Linked DNA regions of Homo sapiens: region 2 is linked to region 1. Evidence: promoter capture Hi-C in human tissues and cell types (Jung and others, 2019). All regions are on one chromosome and are shown on one strand. Each heading gives the region's core, a stretch centred on a gene start or on the middle of the fragment in contact. The rest is flanking DNA. Distances are from core to core; before and after follow the strand shown. Region 1 holds the start of VEZF1 (vascular endothelial zinc finger 1). Region 2 holds the start of OR4D1 (olfactory receptor family 4 subfamily D member 1).

Region 1 (2,809 bases), core at 151-2,650:
GAAGTATTCAAAGGAAAATAACTCAGAGAGGCGGGAAGAACGCACTTAAAAGTGACGAGCTTCCTAACCTCCTCCAGTTCCGAAGTTTCCCCGTGAGCTCATCGCTACTGCCCACTGAATGCTTCGTTTTGCAAACAGAAACGAAGTAGGAAAAAAATAAGTTCCAGCCTAGATCTGCCAAACAGGGGTCCCCCATCTAAAGTGGGCGGGCAAGAGAATTGCCAAAACACATCGGCTACAGTCACTTTCAAGTTTCTTGCAAAAAAGCGAAGACCAACATCCCAGAGAGTGACTCATCTGGGGGCTTTGTAAGCGGACTTTGTTTGCTCTCTCCACTTGGTTGGAGGAAACGTTCGAGGTGGGCGAGAAAGAAAAGCGCTTCGGGAGAAGGTCGGGCCTCCAGGAGTCCCGGCCCCCACCGCTCCCCGCCTGCCCCGGGCCGGCCCGGCTGGGGGATTCCCCAGGCTGAATGGGACGGCGGGAGAGCTGGACAGAGGGAGAAGGTGTCAGCTGCCAAGGCTCGGCTGAGACTTGGGAAAAAAAAATGTAAATCCAGTGAAAAAGTTTGGGGAGGGGATACACACTCACAACATCCGCCCCCCCAACTGGGTAAACACGAGAGGGGTGGTGGCGGTGAGGGGGAGTGGCGGGGAACCTGGGGATACCCGCTATTCGCGGGGACACGGGAGGGGGTCAGAAAGTCAACACACGCACGCACACACACAAAAAGACGAGGAAGGTGAAAAGAGAACAAGCGAAAGATGGATGAAGTGGCGGGGAGGAGACTCAGGGCAGGACCTGGGGACCTCCTCACCCCACCGTGGGGGACCGGGCCGGCACGCAATGGCCCAGCAGCCCGCGCTATCCAGCGGCCCGGCGCCCTCCTTTCTCTGGGCCGCGGGGTGGTGACAGCGACCGGCCTCCTCCCTTCCCCTTCAGAGCGAGAGGGAAGGGTGTGTGTGAGTGTGTGTGTGTGCGTGTGTGTGCTGGGGGGCCCCCGGGTTCACCCCGCGGCCTGCTATCTCCCCCGCACCCCGTGAGGCCGCCTCCTTTCACCTCAGCAGCCCCGCTTCGCCGGGGCGGGCGGGCGGAAAAACAAAGGGGGATTAAGGCCGGGCCGGAGAGCGGAGCCGGGAGGGAGGGGAGGAGGAGCGCCCGCCCGCCCGCCAGCCCGGGGCCCGGCCCCCCTGTCCCCCCCGTGCCCCCCCGGGGGGGCCCCCAGTACCTGGAACAGGAACGCGGTCCAGTTGGCCTCCATGGCTGCGGCGGCCGACCCCCCTCCTCCCCACTCCCCCCGCTCGGGGAGCCTCCTCAGCCGGAGGAGGCGACAACAAAGCGGCGGCGGCGGCGGCGGCAACGGCAGCGGCGGCTCCTCAACATGGCAGCGCCGAGCGCGGCCACTTCCGGTAACCTCCGGGACGCACCACCGCGGCGGCGAGCGCGGGCGGGGGGGGAGCCCCGGCCCGGCCGCCGCCGCCCCCAGTCGCCCGGACCCCCTCTGGGCGTCCCCGCTGCCGGCTCGCCGCCTCGGAGCTCAGCCAGTGCCCGCTGGCGGTGGGGTCAGGGCCCCCGCGGGGGGGCTGGGGTGGGGCCCGGGGCGGGGATGGGGCGCGGCGTCCCCCCCCGCGGGGGTGTGTGGTGCTGCGGTCCGTGGCTCAGGCAGCTGGAGCAGGGGGAGCTCAGGAGAGAAGATGGAGGACGCCAGGGTCTGGCGCTGGCCCGCTGGGCACAGCTGGGCCGTCTCCCGTGACTCAGACACGGTGTCCAGCACCGTCGCGTCCCTGTTAGACCCTCAGCGGAGGGCACAGGCCACGGCGGACACTCGGCTCTTCAGTCGCTCATGCACAGCATGGTCCCCACCTCCAAACTGGGGGAAGCCCTTTCGACTTCGAGCCTCTCTTCCTTTTGGCATTTCCTCCCCGGCCGGCTAAGCCCTCTGCGCTCTCGCTATGATATGCATCTCATGGCGAGATGGCCTTCCAACTCAAGCAGGGAATCCCACTGGGGTGCAGCCTCAGATCCTCTCAGTGTGGAGGGAAACACTTCCCACGCGTAGAGATGTCATTACTGGGTTATTCTTGGGTGAAGGGCTGAGCCTCCCCATCCTCCCCTTCACTCCAAGATAGGATGTGAAATTCTATCCCAACACCCCTCCTCTCCCGCCAAAAATAAAAACAAGTGAGATAGTATAGACAAATTATTTTAGTCCTTTAGTACAGTCTGTTTCCTCCTTCACCCCCAGAACAAAAATCGAACTTCTGGTTGGACAGCGTCAGATGTCACTGAGGTGACCCCAGCCTGTTTGCAGTTCCAAGTCTTCCGTGTAGGCGTCACTGCTACTGGAACTTTGTAGATGAGGAGCCTGTATGATGATGTCCTGAACATTTCTATCCTTTCCTCACACAGAGGGAAGCTACTGGGAATATCAGAGACAAGCTATTATTAAACAAGTGTCTCTAGTCCAAGACATCTCCTGTGGCAGGGAAATGAGGGGGCAGGCTGTATCAGTGATATTTTTATAAACTCTGGTTTTAGAAAAAATTCTTCAGATGGACGCATTATTTTAAGACTTTAACATTTTCCAAAACCAACTGAATCTTATCCCCTCCATTTATCCCCCTCCAGACACTTCTAATCAAGGTCACCATCTCCAACTTCCCCCATAGACAATAAAAATATGGCTGGAGAATTCTACTGTAATAGAAAACCAAGGAGATATAGTAATTTGACAGTGTGTTTCCTTTCCATCCACTAGACAAGAATACCCCCTCCCATTCTTTCCTCCCCTCAGTCACCAGAATGAAGGGGC
Region 2 (2,796 bases), core at 68-2,567, 160 kb after region 1:
AAAAGTCCAGTACCAGATGGCTTTAGTGGTAAATTCTGCCAAACATTTAAAGGAGTATGAACACCAATACTATGCAAGTTCTTGTAAAAAAAAAAAAAAAAAACAGAAGCAAAGGGAACACTTTTTAACACATTCTATGAGGCCAGCATTATCTTGATACCAAAGCCAGACAAAGATACAAGAAAAGAACTACAGACCATATTCTTTATAAATACAAATGCGAAAATTATGAGATGCCACTTCACTCTCACTATTCTAAGTAAGATGGTTATTCCTCAAAAGATTAGGCACAGTTGCTATAAAATCCAGCAATTCCACATCTAGCTATATACCAAAGAAAAATGAAAGAATACATCCACACAAAATCCTATACATGAATATTCCTAGCAGCTTTATTCATAATAGCTAAAAAGTGGAAAGAACTCAAATGTCCGAGAGCTGACTGACTGATTTACAAAAGTGGTATATCCATATGATGTAATATTATCCAGTCATAAAAAGGAATGACTGGTACATGACTAGTACTGGTACATGCTACAGTACAGATGAAACTTAAAAACATAAGTGAAAGAAGCAGGACACAAAAGCCATATATCATCATATGTGTGTTATATGATTCAATTTTTAGGAAATGTCCAGAACAGGCAAATCCAGAGACAAAAAGTAGATTAGTGGTTTCCAGAGACTGAGGAGAGAACAGAATGGGCAGTGACTGCTAAAGGATATGAGATTTCTTTTCAGAACGAAGAAAATGTTCTGGAATTAGGTAGTGGTGATGGTTACACAAGTTTGTGAATATACTAAAAACCACTGAATGGTTAAAATCATTTAATAATTGTGAAGCTTATGGTAGTTGAATTATATCTTGAGGATGAACTTAGCCAATTTACATTGAGAGTTCACTTTGGCTGAGAGAAGAGCAGATCAGAGATTGGGATAAGAGATGGTACCTTAATGACTGTACATATGAAAAAGGCTTTGGAGTTTATAGAGGGGGTGACCTGGACTGTGTCCTAGGACATAACTCACTTTTCCAACTACAGTGGTGATAGGAGAGGGTGGAGGCCTTGCACTGCCCATGGTGCTGAGGGATTTGGTTCTTGTAAACCTCCCTGGGAATTCACGTCTCTTTAGGGTTCTTATCCTTCTTCATCTTGGTCCTTTGATCAGTAACTCTGAAATGTTGGCCCCAAGACAGTCTCCCAATAATTATGTGCATCTGATGCAACATCTCACATACTTTTTAATAACTCCCATTGCTCATTTGCCCTTAGCAGCCTGAGCCAGGCTTTATCTTATGAATTAAGCCTAAGTTTTACTCCCCAAGGAATTTCCCTTTCCTTAAGGCCAATCCCATATGTGTTCCTTGTCTGAGAGAGGCCAGGAGAAGAATGGAGCTACAGGAGAAGAGTGACCTGGGAGATGGGAGGCTCTAAGTCCTCTTGGCCACTGTGGGCTGGAGGAAGGTGATGGCCTCATTGTCCTTCCCATGGACAAATCAGCACGACAAAGCCTATCGTGAGACAAGCATGGGGTGGAGGGAAGGCATGGGGGAAGTCATCAGGCATTAATGCAAGGGGAACGGGATTTGGGAAACATTGATTTTATCTAACATTAAGACTTTTGTCTGTATTGGCTTATGTGCTGGGTGGAATTTAGAACAGAGGGTGGGAGGGAGAGCGGAATATAGACATACACTGTTATCTCCCCCGCCTCCCACATACATACTACAGCTTCTTCCCACACCTAGGAGAAAACACAAACAGGTCTTGCTCTGACACTTTCCACCCTCTACTGTTCCTTTTTAAGTCTCATCTTCCTCCATCTTCCCCCTTCTCCTGCCTGCTTCTCTCACTCACTCCAGATTTTCTTCCCTTCTTTATTGCTGTCCCTCCATCTTATCCTCTCTTTTCTTAAATCTTGTGTTTAACAATACCTGTTAATGCTCCCTGGATGACAACAGACTAGATTCTACCCCATTTTGGGAACCCACTTATTCCTTCTCCCCTCGTCTCTCCTAGTCCTGTGTGGGCTGATTTTCTAAGAGCAAAGACAGATGGGAGAGAAGATTGAGTAACAACAGAAGAGGTCTAGAATCCTCCCCTTTCCCCATACAGATCCATGTCCCTCCCTATGTCTATTTTCTTTCTTGTCTAGAATCCCTCTAAATCTATTTTCTATGCATGTAGGGGGAGGAAGCATTTGCAAAGATTCTGATGGGTTTGTGGAAAGAATCGGGCCATGCTAAGATGATGCTTCTAGGATTGTAAATCTGGTGATGCTGGGAATTAGGATTCTTGGATTCTCTTTGAGGTCCTATAAACTGCATTCTATCCAGTGGCTACTCTCTCTTTCTTCCCAGCTCTCACGGCAGTCTGGCCCATCCCAGCACCCTGTCCTCCATTAAGCAATCACACATTCTTTTGGGAACCAACTATGAGAAAGGGTCTGTGTGTACCACGTACTGTGTAATACTTAACATATTGGATTTGCACTGAAATTACAACACATGTGAGGAACAGAGCCATCCTCATGAAAAAATACCAAGGCATAGCAACATTATGGAAGAGCTAATTACTCTTGAACCTTGAAGGAAGGGTAGAATTCAGACAGGTGAACAGGACAGAAAAGCAATTCAGATGCGGCACTGACTGGATGAAGGCACTGAGACCTGAGGGACCGAAGAAGAGATAAGTTTGGCTGAAGCTGAATCTTCTTAGAGGAGAGCAGGTAAGAGGAGAATAGTCATTAGGAGTGCAAATTCTGGGTCAATCAGACCTGGCTCAGAATCCCAGC

What was found. The method cuts DNA at HindIII sites, captures the fragments that hold promoters and counts their contacts. A contact is called where the count stands out against the background at its distance.
Region 2: a contact is called between the fragment with the promoter of OR4D1 here and the fragment with the promoter of VEZF1 in region 1, in 1 of the 25 tissues and cell types used here (adrenal gland).

What each region holds. Positions count from the first base shown.
Region 1 is chr17:57,986,854-57,989,662 of GRCh38, forward strand. It overlaps VEZF1 (vascular endothelial zinc finger 1), which reads right to left and starts at 1,401. Exons shown (of 6, transcript NM_007146.3): 1 at 1,226-1,401. The coding sequence starts at 1,258. LOC101929185 (a long non-coding RNA gene) reads left to right here and starts at 1,257. Exons shown (of 1, transcript XR_001752716.3): 1 at 1,257-2,809. It also overlaps a transcript of SRSF1 not described here. RefSeq lists silencers at 664-733, 814-1,293, 1,364-1,643 and enhancers at 1,794-1,843, 1,864-2,003. The HindIII fragment of the contact is 6,267 bases long and covers 1-2,809 here.
Region 2 is chr17:58,147,067-58,149,862 of GRCh38, forward strand. OR4D1 (olfactory receptor family 4 subfamily D member 1) reads left to right here and starts at 1,318. Exons shown (of 4, transcript NM_001386095.1): 1 at 1,318-1,518; 2 at 2,363-2,730. The HindIII fragment of the contact is 15,992 bases long and covers 1-2,796 here.